3 separate regions of the Homo sapiens genome follow, and all the other regions are linked to region 1. Evidence: promoter capture Hi-C in human tissues and cell types (Jung and others, 2019). All regions are on one chromosome and are shown on one strand. Each heading gives the region's core, a stretch centred on a gene start or on the middle of the fragment in contact. The rest is flanking DNA. Distances are from core to core; before and after follow the strand shown.

Region 1 (3,066 bases), core at 186-2,685:
GCCAGGATGGTCTCGATCTCTTGACCTCAATGATCCGCCCGCCTCGGCCTCCCAAATTATTTCAGGAGTTCTTAATCTTTTTGTGCACGGACCTCATTGGCAGTTTGGTGAAGCCTATGGTCCCTTTCTCAGATTTCTTTTAAGTGCATAATTAAATACATGTGATTACAAGGGAAACCAATTATATGGAAATATTAGCAAAACAACAAACTAATATGGTCATAATATATGTACAGCCTTATTATCACATTAAATAACAATGTCTAACGGCGGGTCTAGTAACACCAGAAATTCAAAGAAGTGTTAACCATAAATGATATTCTGAGCTATCTGCAACTGTAAACATGATGCAAAAATATCCGTAATTTTTATTGATCACAAAGTCATAGGCGCTGCTAATGCTACTCTGGCTTGTTGTCCACATTCGTAACTGAAGGAAATAATAAGTTTCAGTTAGCAGTCAATAAAAATAATGATGTCATTTTATCCTCCTTCTAGTGAAAGGACCCTTCTAATTCTATCCATCAATGAACTCCAGTTTAAAACCCCTCTCTAGTTCAAAGTCCTGCTCAGAACTGATTTTCGTCATAAATTTAAAAATAAAAACACTGATTCCTCCTTTGACCTAGTTCTCATCTGAACCTATCACTATGTCTCCCTGTTTTTATGCACATTTATACACAGAACCCTGGGTGTACTTCTGTGGTTTGCCTAGCCAGCACTCACTACAATTTTGCCAGTCAATAAAAGGTGAAGTTAAAAGAAAAGGGATGGAAACAACCAACAGCTCCCTCACTTTCAGACCTCCGACAGCAAGTGGAAAGATGCCAAGTACAGTGAGTGTCTGTGTTAGGTGGGCTGCCCCCAGACCCGTGTGTCCAGCTTGTCAAGCTTCCCTGCAGCACGATATCTTTATCAGCGACACTCAGAAGACATTCCATTTCGTTCTCGCCTCCTATACTCAGTTCCCTACCTGCCGGGCCTCTCGTCTCTGGCCCCCACCCGAGGCCGCCCCGCGGTCCTCCTGTCCCTTCCCATCCCATCCCCCACGCGTCTCTCCCTCTCCTCAGCCCCAGGCCGCCCTGGCTCCTGCGCGCCGCCACATCTCTCCCCTGGGTCTAACCCAGTGTCCCCCGACCCCCACCTCGCCCGACACTGACGGGAAGAGCCCAGGACCCCGGGGTCAGTTGGACCTGACGGCCGGGCAGTCAGAGACAGGCTGCGGCCCTAGGCCGGAGCAACCCGGCCGCGAGGCAGGGAGCCGCTCACAGCCCGCGGACTAAATCGGGACGCGTACTCACCAAGGGGGTCATGCGGGGGAGGACACGGAGGACTCTGTCGGACCGCCACTCGGCCTCGGAGCCGTCGCCCTAGCCGGTGACTGCCCCCGCCGCCGCTGCCGCCACCTTCGCCACTCGCCTGTTGGCTTCCCTGCGTCCTGCAGCGGCGCTGCCGCCACGCCAGCGCGCGTGCGCAGCGCCGCGGGGGCCTCTGGGAGCTGTAGTTCCGCCCGGGCGGCTAGGGGCTCCCACTTCCGCCTTAGGCAGCCCTAGGTCAGCTGCCCCCTGAGGCTGTCGTGGGTGTCCGGGTCCGGAATCGTCTTCCGGAAGGCTGTTCACCAGGCCTGGGCCCTGGTTTCCGCCTGCAGTAATGCTGGACGTGAAGAATCCGACTGAGCAAGTATGTGTAAAGCAAAAATGTAGAGCGTTTTATGCTTTCTGTGACAACGCTCAGTTGCCCAGGACACATTATTCGCATGAATGACTCTCTCTCTTCTCTGTTTCTCTCTCACACGTACGCACACACTACTTACAAACCTCCCTTCCCTTTTTTTTTTTTTTTCGAGACGGAGTCTGGCTCTGTCGCCCAGGCTGGAGTGCAGTGGCTCAATCTCGGCTCACTGCAAGCTCCGCCTCCCGGGTTCACGCCATTCTCCCGCCTCAGCCTCCCAAGTAGCTGGAACTACAAGCGCCCGCCACCACGCCCGGCTAATTTTTTGATTTTTAGTAGAGACGAGGTTTCACCGTGTTAGCCAGGATGGTCTCGATCTCCTGACCTCGTGATCCGCCCGCCTCGGCCTCCCAAAGTGCTGGGATTACAGGCGTGAGCCACCGCTGCCGGCCCCTCCCTTCCCTTTTGTTCTAAGTGCCATTAATTGGTTTGGATGGTATCTGGATTTTCAGTGTAAAACCTGCCTTCCCACTTCTCAGTTTCTAAAATCTTGCTTATCATAAACTTCACCATGCAGTTATTTTAGGTAAGTCAATAAATGAACTGTCTAATAATTTTTGTAACACCATAACTCATATATTCAGAGGTCAAGTTAGCTGAGTTGAACAGTCTAGAAACCTTAAAATTGGAAGATACCTGCTTAAAGGTCACTAGTGCAACTGTTGCCCAGGCAGGAATTCCCTCCTGTACATTCAGCCAGATGGTCATCTTCCTGTTCAACAGTTCAAATTTCAGGGAGCTCACTCCCTCAAGTAATGCAGCCTGCTCCACTGTTGGACAGCTCTAAATGTTAGAAAGTTCTGCCTCCTGCTGAGCTGAAATCTGTTTCCCTTTATTTCCTTCCATTGCTGGTAGTTAGGCTGCCTGGAGCAATACAGAATGTCTTCCACTTGACAGATCTTCAAAAAATTGAGAACAATGATTATATCCTCCAATACTGGGAGTCTCCAGGCAAAAAAAGGAAAAAAGTAATAATCATTTCCCCAGCTATTTCAAATGTCAATCAACTCCCAAACTGCTTTCTATCTACTCACCTCTCTTGATGTCACCTTTAGGGGCATGGTGGCATATGCCTATAATCCTAGCACTTTGCGAGGCCAAGGCAGGAGGATTGCTTGAGCCCAGAAGTTCAAGACCAGCCTGAGCAACATAGTGAAACCCCAACTCTACAAAAAATACAAAAATCAGCGAGGCATGGTGGCTTGCACCTGTAGTCCCAGCTACTAGGGAGGCTGAAGTGGGAGGATCACCAAGCCCAAAAAGGTCAAGGCTGCAGTGAGCTGTGATCATGCCACTGAACTCCATCCTGGGCAGCAGAGTGAAACCTGTCTCAAA
Region 2 (3,066 bases), core at 177-2,676, 1.2 Mb before region 1:
AGTTCTGTAATTTGGGACAAGTATTTAATCTCTCTGAGCCTCTCTTTCCTCAGCTGTAGAAGAGAGAAAATAATAATACCTGGACTGCAATGACATTCAAACAAGATAAAAACATAAAGCCCTAGGTACGAACGAACTGCTCAGTAACTGTTAGCCATTCGTATTAGTGTTAGTGTTATTACTGCTGTACAGAGGGAAATACCCTTTCACGGTTGACCTTTTTCTACCTGCTTTCACATAAGAACGTAAGTGCAGCCATATTAAATTACACAATCCATGGGCTGTGAGACCCAATCCAAAGACGTTTGGTGGGACGGAAGCAATGTTTGCTAAGGAGTCACTCATTGGGCACCCAGACCAGGGTGCCCTCACACCACAAACGAACATTCTTAGAGGTTCTATTTGGCATGAGCAATCTGGATTACACACACACACACACACACACACACACACAGAGCACTGACTCCTCCTAGGCTCCCCATCTCTACACAGAAGACTGTAATTGAGGGGCTCGCTTCATCCCTCTGCATCCCTAGTGCCCTGGGAGGAATCTAGGGCCACCAGCCCCCCCACCTCCTCCTTCAGGGCAGTCCCTCCCTCCAGGGTCCAGGGTGCAGTGCTGGGCTGCACAACCTCATGCAGGTCCAGGGCAGTTCTCTGAAAGCTATGGGAGCACAGAGGGAAGGCAGCTGCCCCACAGTCCACACCCACAAGAAACTCGACACACAACAAGAACATTCTCACTGAGCCTCAGAAGCTTGGATCTTGCTTCCAAGTCGAGCTTGACTTGCAACACCAGAGATAGCAGACACCACGGAGAGCCATGGTCTGGGGGACCCAATGAGTTACTCCTCAGCAAACATTGCTTTTGTCCCTCCAAACGTCTTTGGGTTGGGACTCACAGCCCCTGGGTTATGTAATTTAATATGGCTGCACTCCTGTTTTTATGGGAAAGCAGGCAGAAAGGGGTCTACCGCGAAAGGGTATTTTCCTCTGTACGGCAGTAATAACACTAATACTCACTAATACTAATACCAGTGGCTAACAGTTACTGAGCAGCTAGTTTGTACCTAGGGCCTTATGTTTTTATCTCATTTAAACATCATAGCAGTCCAGGTATTGTTATTGTCTTTCTTCCACAGTTTAGAAAAGAGAGGCTCAGAGACATTAAAGAAACATTTTTTTAACGTTATAAATATTTAATGGCTTGGGGCAGGGATCAACTGCATTTTGCTCAAGGTAAAGATAAAACGCAACTCAGTGATACTTTTCCACATGAGTTCAAAGGTACCCTGGTGGCTGAGGGGCCACTGGGTCAGTGCACACACCTGCTGCCCACAGCGACAAACGCAGAAACTCCTCAGTGAGCTCGAGACCAAAGGAGCTTTGTAGATGCAGAACAAAAAGCAGACCCAAGGTCCAATGCAGATACGTTACCACTAGTAGCGACCACATCCTCTGGAAGAAGGCATGCTCTAAAACAGGCAGTGTGATCTGCAGCCACGGGGGGTAACTGACAGCAAGGGCCTGACAGGCATGGCCTGTGACTACGGAGCACGCCTGTCCCCCAGGCTGAGCATCACATACACCCCTCGGTTGTGGAGCAGGGAACCTCAGGCTTGGAAGACGCACTTTCTCTGCCAGGGCTCTTTTTACCTTCTCAAAACCAACCCATCTATATTTTTAAGTTGTACTCTTTAACACTTCAGCACATGAATATATTTTCTAAGGAAACCATTCCAATAGGATAGCTAAGTCAAAGCACCCCTTGAATCCGGAGCCGCTGATCCCTGGACCCTTCTCAGAGCAAGCCTTGGTAGTGGTCTGTACACAGTGCCTGGGGTCCTGCCGGCCTGTCTCCCATGCATTCACCTGCGTGTTGGCATGTATAGAAAAAGGACAGAATATTATTTTTTTATTTTTTAGACATGGACTTTTGCTCTATCACCCAGGCTGAAGTGCAGTGGTGCCATCATAGCTGTGTGTAGCCCCGAAATCCTGGGCTCAAGGGGTCTTCCTGCCTCAGCCTCCCAAGTAGCTGGGATTACAGGCATGAGCCACTACAGCTGGCCAGAATTTTGTTTTGTATGTATTCGTGTTTTTAATAAAAATAGCATCACAGCATAAGTAACTGTTTTGCAATTTACTTTTTTTCAATTGACTGTGTTTCCACATCAATTCTTAGAGCTCTGTGTCTCAGCCTTTTTAACTGTTGCATAGAAGTAGGGTCCAGAGACAACCAAGAACCAGCCTGCCAGGAGTCCTGATGGCCATTCTCAGCAGACTGAAGGACATCATGAGGTCCCTGGGGAGCCACCAAAGGGTCTTTGAGCTGGAGAGAGAGATGGGGAGATTTAGGTTTTAACAGCGTCTCCCTGGCTATGGAGAGGAGAATGAATTACAGGGAGTGAGGCTGGAGCAGGAACACCAGGGAGGAAGTTCTGACACTGAACCAGGCGAGGGACGCTGGTGGCCCGGATGAGGGCAGTGGCAGTAAGAATGGAGTGGCTGGGGAAGGCCAAGGGACATTTAGATGGAAGAATCAAGAGACCTGGCCACTGGCTGCAGAGGGGCAAGGCGGAATCAAGGGTGACCCCAGGATCCTGGCCTAAAGAGCTGGGAGAATGAAATGCCAGGTACTGACGGGGCGTGGGGGCCAGCGGAAAAGCAGCAGAGATGAACTCGTGGGTCCCGCTGAGCATGTGTCTGGTTTGAGGGGCTTGGGCCACAGCCAAGGGGAGGCAACTGGTCAACACTGGTTAGAACATTATGACCGAGAATGTGAGATGGGTGTGTGAGGGCTGCCGGGTGGAGATCCAGAAATGAGGCCTGGCGGGCGGGGATGTGAGGGTGAGTTTGGAAGTAACCAGCATGGTGATAATTGAGACCATGAGAGAAGATGAAATATTCTGGAACATGGTGAGAGAGGCAGACCTGGGACAGAGCTGAGGAATGTTAACGTTCCAAGCTGGCAAAAACAATGGGAAGATCAGAATGTACTCTGTGATATTGGATCAAAATCAGATGTATCATTATAAAGTCGGTTTTAATATGTAGTTGTAGACA
Region 3 (3,066 bases), core at 229-2,728, 1.1 Mb before region 1:
GCATAAAATTCTTGAAAAAATATATACCCAATGTTAACTGTTTAACAGTGGCTACGTCTTGGGAATGGTTTACACAGAGACTATCATTTTTTATTTTAGCATATTTGCATCACTTAGGAATATGGATACAAATAACAGAAAATTCAACCAACAGTAGCTTGAACAGTAGGTGTTTATTTTACTGGCCAGTAATCATCTTCAGTCTTCTTGTTAAGAAAGAATGAAGCCATTAAGAATACATGTCCATCCACACTTCTTTGACATCTTCAGCTTGATGTCTTTTCTGTCATTGCCTCATGGGTGCAGGATTACTCCCCCAGCTTCAGATGTCATGGCCTGGCAGCAAAAACTTTCTCAGAAACTCCCCACCAGGCCTGCTTAGATACCATTGGCTAGAAATGGGTCACATTGCCCCTCCTCACTGCAAGGGAGGATGGGAAATTGGCTTTGTCAATGGCAGTCACTTCCTGAGACTGGCCGTATTTCCAGGCCAATACAAAAAAAAAAAAAAAAAAAAAAAAAATCACTGTTTCATTATCAAGGAAGAAGGCAATTAAGTTTTTAAAAAAATTAATAATGAACTATATGACCTTTATAATCAGGGGAAAAAATGTCAGTGCATTTCATACATGATAAGATCCCAGAAAGTGTTCAGTGCCACAAATAGTACCTGTTCTGAAAGAGATGGGTTAAGGGTGGAGAGCCGTGCAAAGCAGGCCTTCATGCTTACCAGGCCTTACCTGCACAGGTCCAGGGCCAACTCGGGCAGCTTCCTGGAGCTCAGATCCCCACCACTCACTTCCTTCCTTTTTGGCCCTCTTTAAGGGCTCTCTCAATTATGATAATAAATACATCATTACTCCTAGGGCTGTTTTCTGGTATTGATCTGCGGGAACTAGAATGGATTGATTCTGCCTTGAAAGAGTAAGGGTAAAATCTCCTCAGTTATGAGTCTTGCTGGCTAAACAGAACTTTTCCCTGATCTGCACAGTTTTTGACCTGCTGGTAGGAGCAGAAAGCAGGCAGGTGGGATTAGCATGTTTGTGGGACAGGTGTGTAAATGTGGCAGGCTCACTTTCACAAGACTTTGACTGGATGGATGTGAGAAATAAACGGAGGATACCCACAAACAGTGCTGTTGAAATGAAGAAGCCATAAACACATGCAGACCTGCTTTTATGACACTGAGGCCCCACAGAATAACGGATCCAACTTGTGATTGTTTCAACACCTTCCCTAATAGAGAGGGCCTTTGTGCCGCAGAGAGCTGGTACAAAGACAGCATTCAGCAAAAGCGACTTCCTTTCTTTAGATTGTAAGCTTCACAGGGGCAGGCACCTGAGGAGCCCTGTCTCTTTTATTTACCACTCTAGGACTTAGCAGGCACTCAACAAATAATTCTTGAATTAATGTCGGTCCTTATCTGCAACTGTTAGGAATCATGATCATTGCCATTCACGGGGTATTTCCTCTGTGTCAGGCACTGGGCTAGGTCCTTCTGCCTAAACTATTTCACTCAATAACCAACACTGATCCTGTAAAGCAGGGAGTATGATTGCCATATTATAACTACAAAAACTGGGGCTCAGAGAGATAAAGTGGCTTTCCTAAGTTATATCATGGAAAGTAGGAGTTAGAGGTATTAGACTCTAAAGTCGATGCTTGGAACTTCACTCTACAAAACTCTTTTTTTGTGTTTTTTTGTTTTGTTTTGTTTTCGTTGTTGTTTTTTGTTTGTTTTTGTTTTGAGACAGGATCTCACTCTGCTGCCCAGACTGAGTGCAGCGGTGCAATCCTAGCTCACTGCAGCCTTGAACTCCTGGCTAATTTTTAGATTTTTTTTTTTAGAGGCAGAGATCTCGCCGTGTTACCCAGGCTGGTCTTGAGCTCCTGGCCTCAAGCAATCCTACCCCGTCAGCCTCCCAAAGCACTGGGATTGCAGGTGAGAGCCACTGCACCTGCCTACAAAACTCTGGAGCAGGATTTCCAGAGTCCTGAAACGCATTGTGTTGGATAGAGCCCTGATTCTCAGGACAATGGTTGTTTCTTCACTCTCTCACTGGGAGTCCAGGCCAAGCTTCTGGATTTAGAGAGACGAGCAGAGTCAGTTGTGCCCTCAAGATATTCACAGGCTGTAGGGAGATTCAGATGTTGTTCAGTGATCATTTGGTTTTCCGTAACAGAAATGCTCTCAAACCCAGTTAGGCATAAAACAGAATTCATGGAACAAACTGGGATTCTCTCACGGAAGCAGTCTCGTACGGCAGGCACATTTCCAGGCCTCTTCCAGGGCTATGTTTCCTCCTGTTTCCCCTTTTCCCTGTGTCTGCCTTTGTTTTTTGCCCTTTCTAACAACGACTTTTCTCTTCTTCTCCTCCCTGTCCACAGTCTAACAATTGCTGCCATGATGGTGTTCTCAGCCCACAGTCTATATCACATCAGTCCCAGTGGCCTGCAGACAGTGACAAGGCATCTCTAAGCTCCAATTCCAGACTTTCAGAGAGATGATCTGACAGGCCCAGTAAAGGTCAGAACTACCCCAGACCCAATAAACTGGGACAGAGGGCAGGATCGCATCACATCTATGTGCCCACTTCCCTGGGCCAGGCAAACCTCAGGAAGGTTAGGGCTGCAGGTGTACTCAGGAAGAACTGACACCAGAAACCCAGAGCTTCCTTTATCTCAGCTTCATTCTCTCATTACAGACCTTCTTCTTCCACATGGCAGAATCAGACTGCTGACAGTTTTATATCCTCTTATTGCTTCTACCACTAAATAAAAATTGGCTGTCTAAGATTCACTTTAAAAATCCTGGGAAAAGATTCCAATGGGCCTAGCTATGACCAGGTGACCACTCTGGCCTGATCAAGGCCATTTAGAGGGACAGGGTCATTAAAGAACACAGCTGCTCCTGCAGAAAGAACAGGTTGCCAAGAAAATGGGTGGTCCTGGGAAAATCAACCCATGTATTGGCCCAAAGCTGTGTTATGATTCTGTTTGCTTATCTCCTCTACTAGCCCCTAACCCCACCTCAGTTGGTTCTGGAACTCAAGGAGCATGGCTGTG

Evidence for each region. The method cuts DNA at HindIII sites, captures the fragments that hold promoters and counts their contacts. A contact is called where the count stands out against the background at its distance.
Region 2: a contact is called between a fragment that was not itself captured here and the fragment with the promoter of GAPVD1 in region 1, in 1 of the 25 tissues and cell types used here (dorsolateral prefrontal cortex).
Region 3: a fragment that was not itself captured here is called in contact with the fragment with the promoter of GAPVD1 in region 1 in 2 of the 25 tissues and cell types used here (dorsolateral prefrontal cortex and mesenchymal stem cells).

What each region holds. Positions count from the first base shown.
Region 1 is chr9:125,260,195-125,263,260 of GRCh38, reverse strand. It overlaps GAPVD1 (GTPase activating protein and VPS9 domains 1), which reads right to left and starts at 1,435. Exons shown (of 28, transcript NM_001282680.3): 1 at 1,302-1,435. RefSeq lists silencers at 1,289-1,418, 1,357-1,538. The HindIII fragment of the contact is 6,614 bases long and covers 1-3,066 here.
Region 2 is chr9:126,468,035-126,471,100 of GRCh38, reverse strand. The region is part of intron 7 of MVB12B (multivesicular body subunit 12B); the gene reads right to left. Among named protein-coding and RNA genes, the nearest start is that of NRON, 59 kb to the right of the region's middle. The HindIII fragment of the contact is 4,519 bases long and covers 1-3,066 here.
Region 3 is chr9:126,318,027-126,321,092 of GRCh38, reverse strand. No RefSeq gene overlaps it. Among named protein-coding and RNA genes, the nearest start is that of MVB12B, 7.3 kb to the left of the region's middle. The HindIII fragment of the contact is 4,487 bases long and covers 1-3,066 here.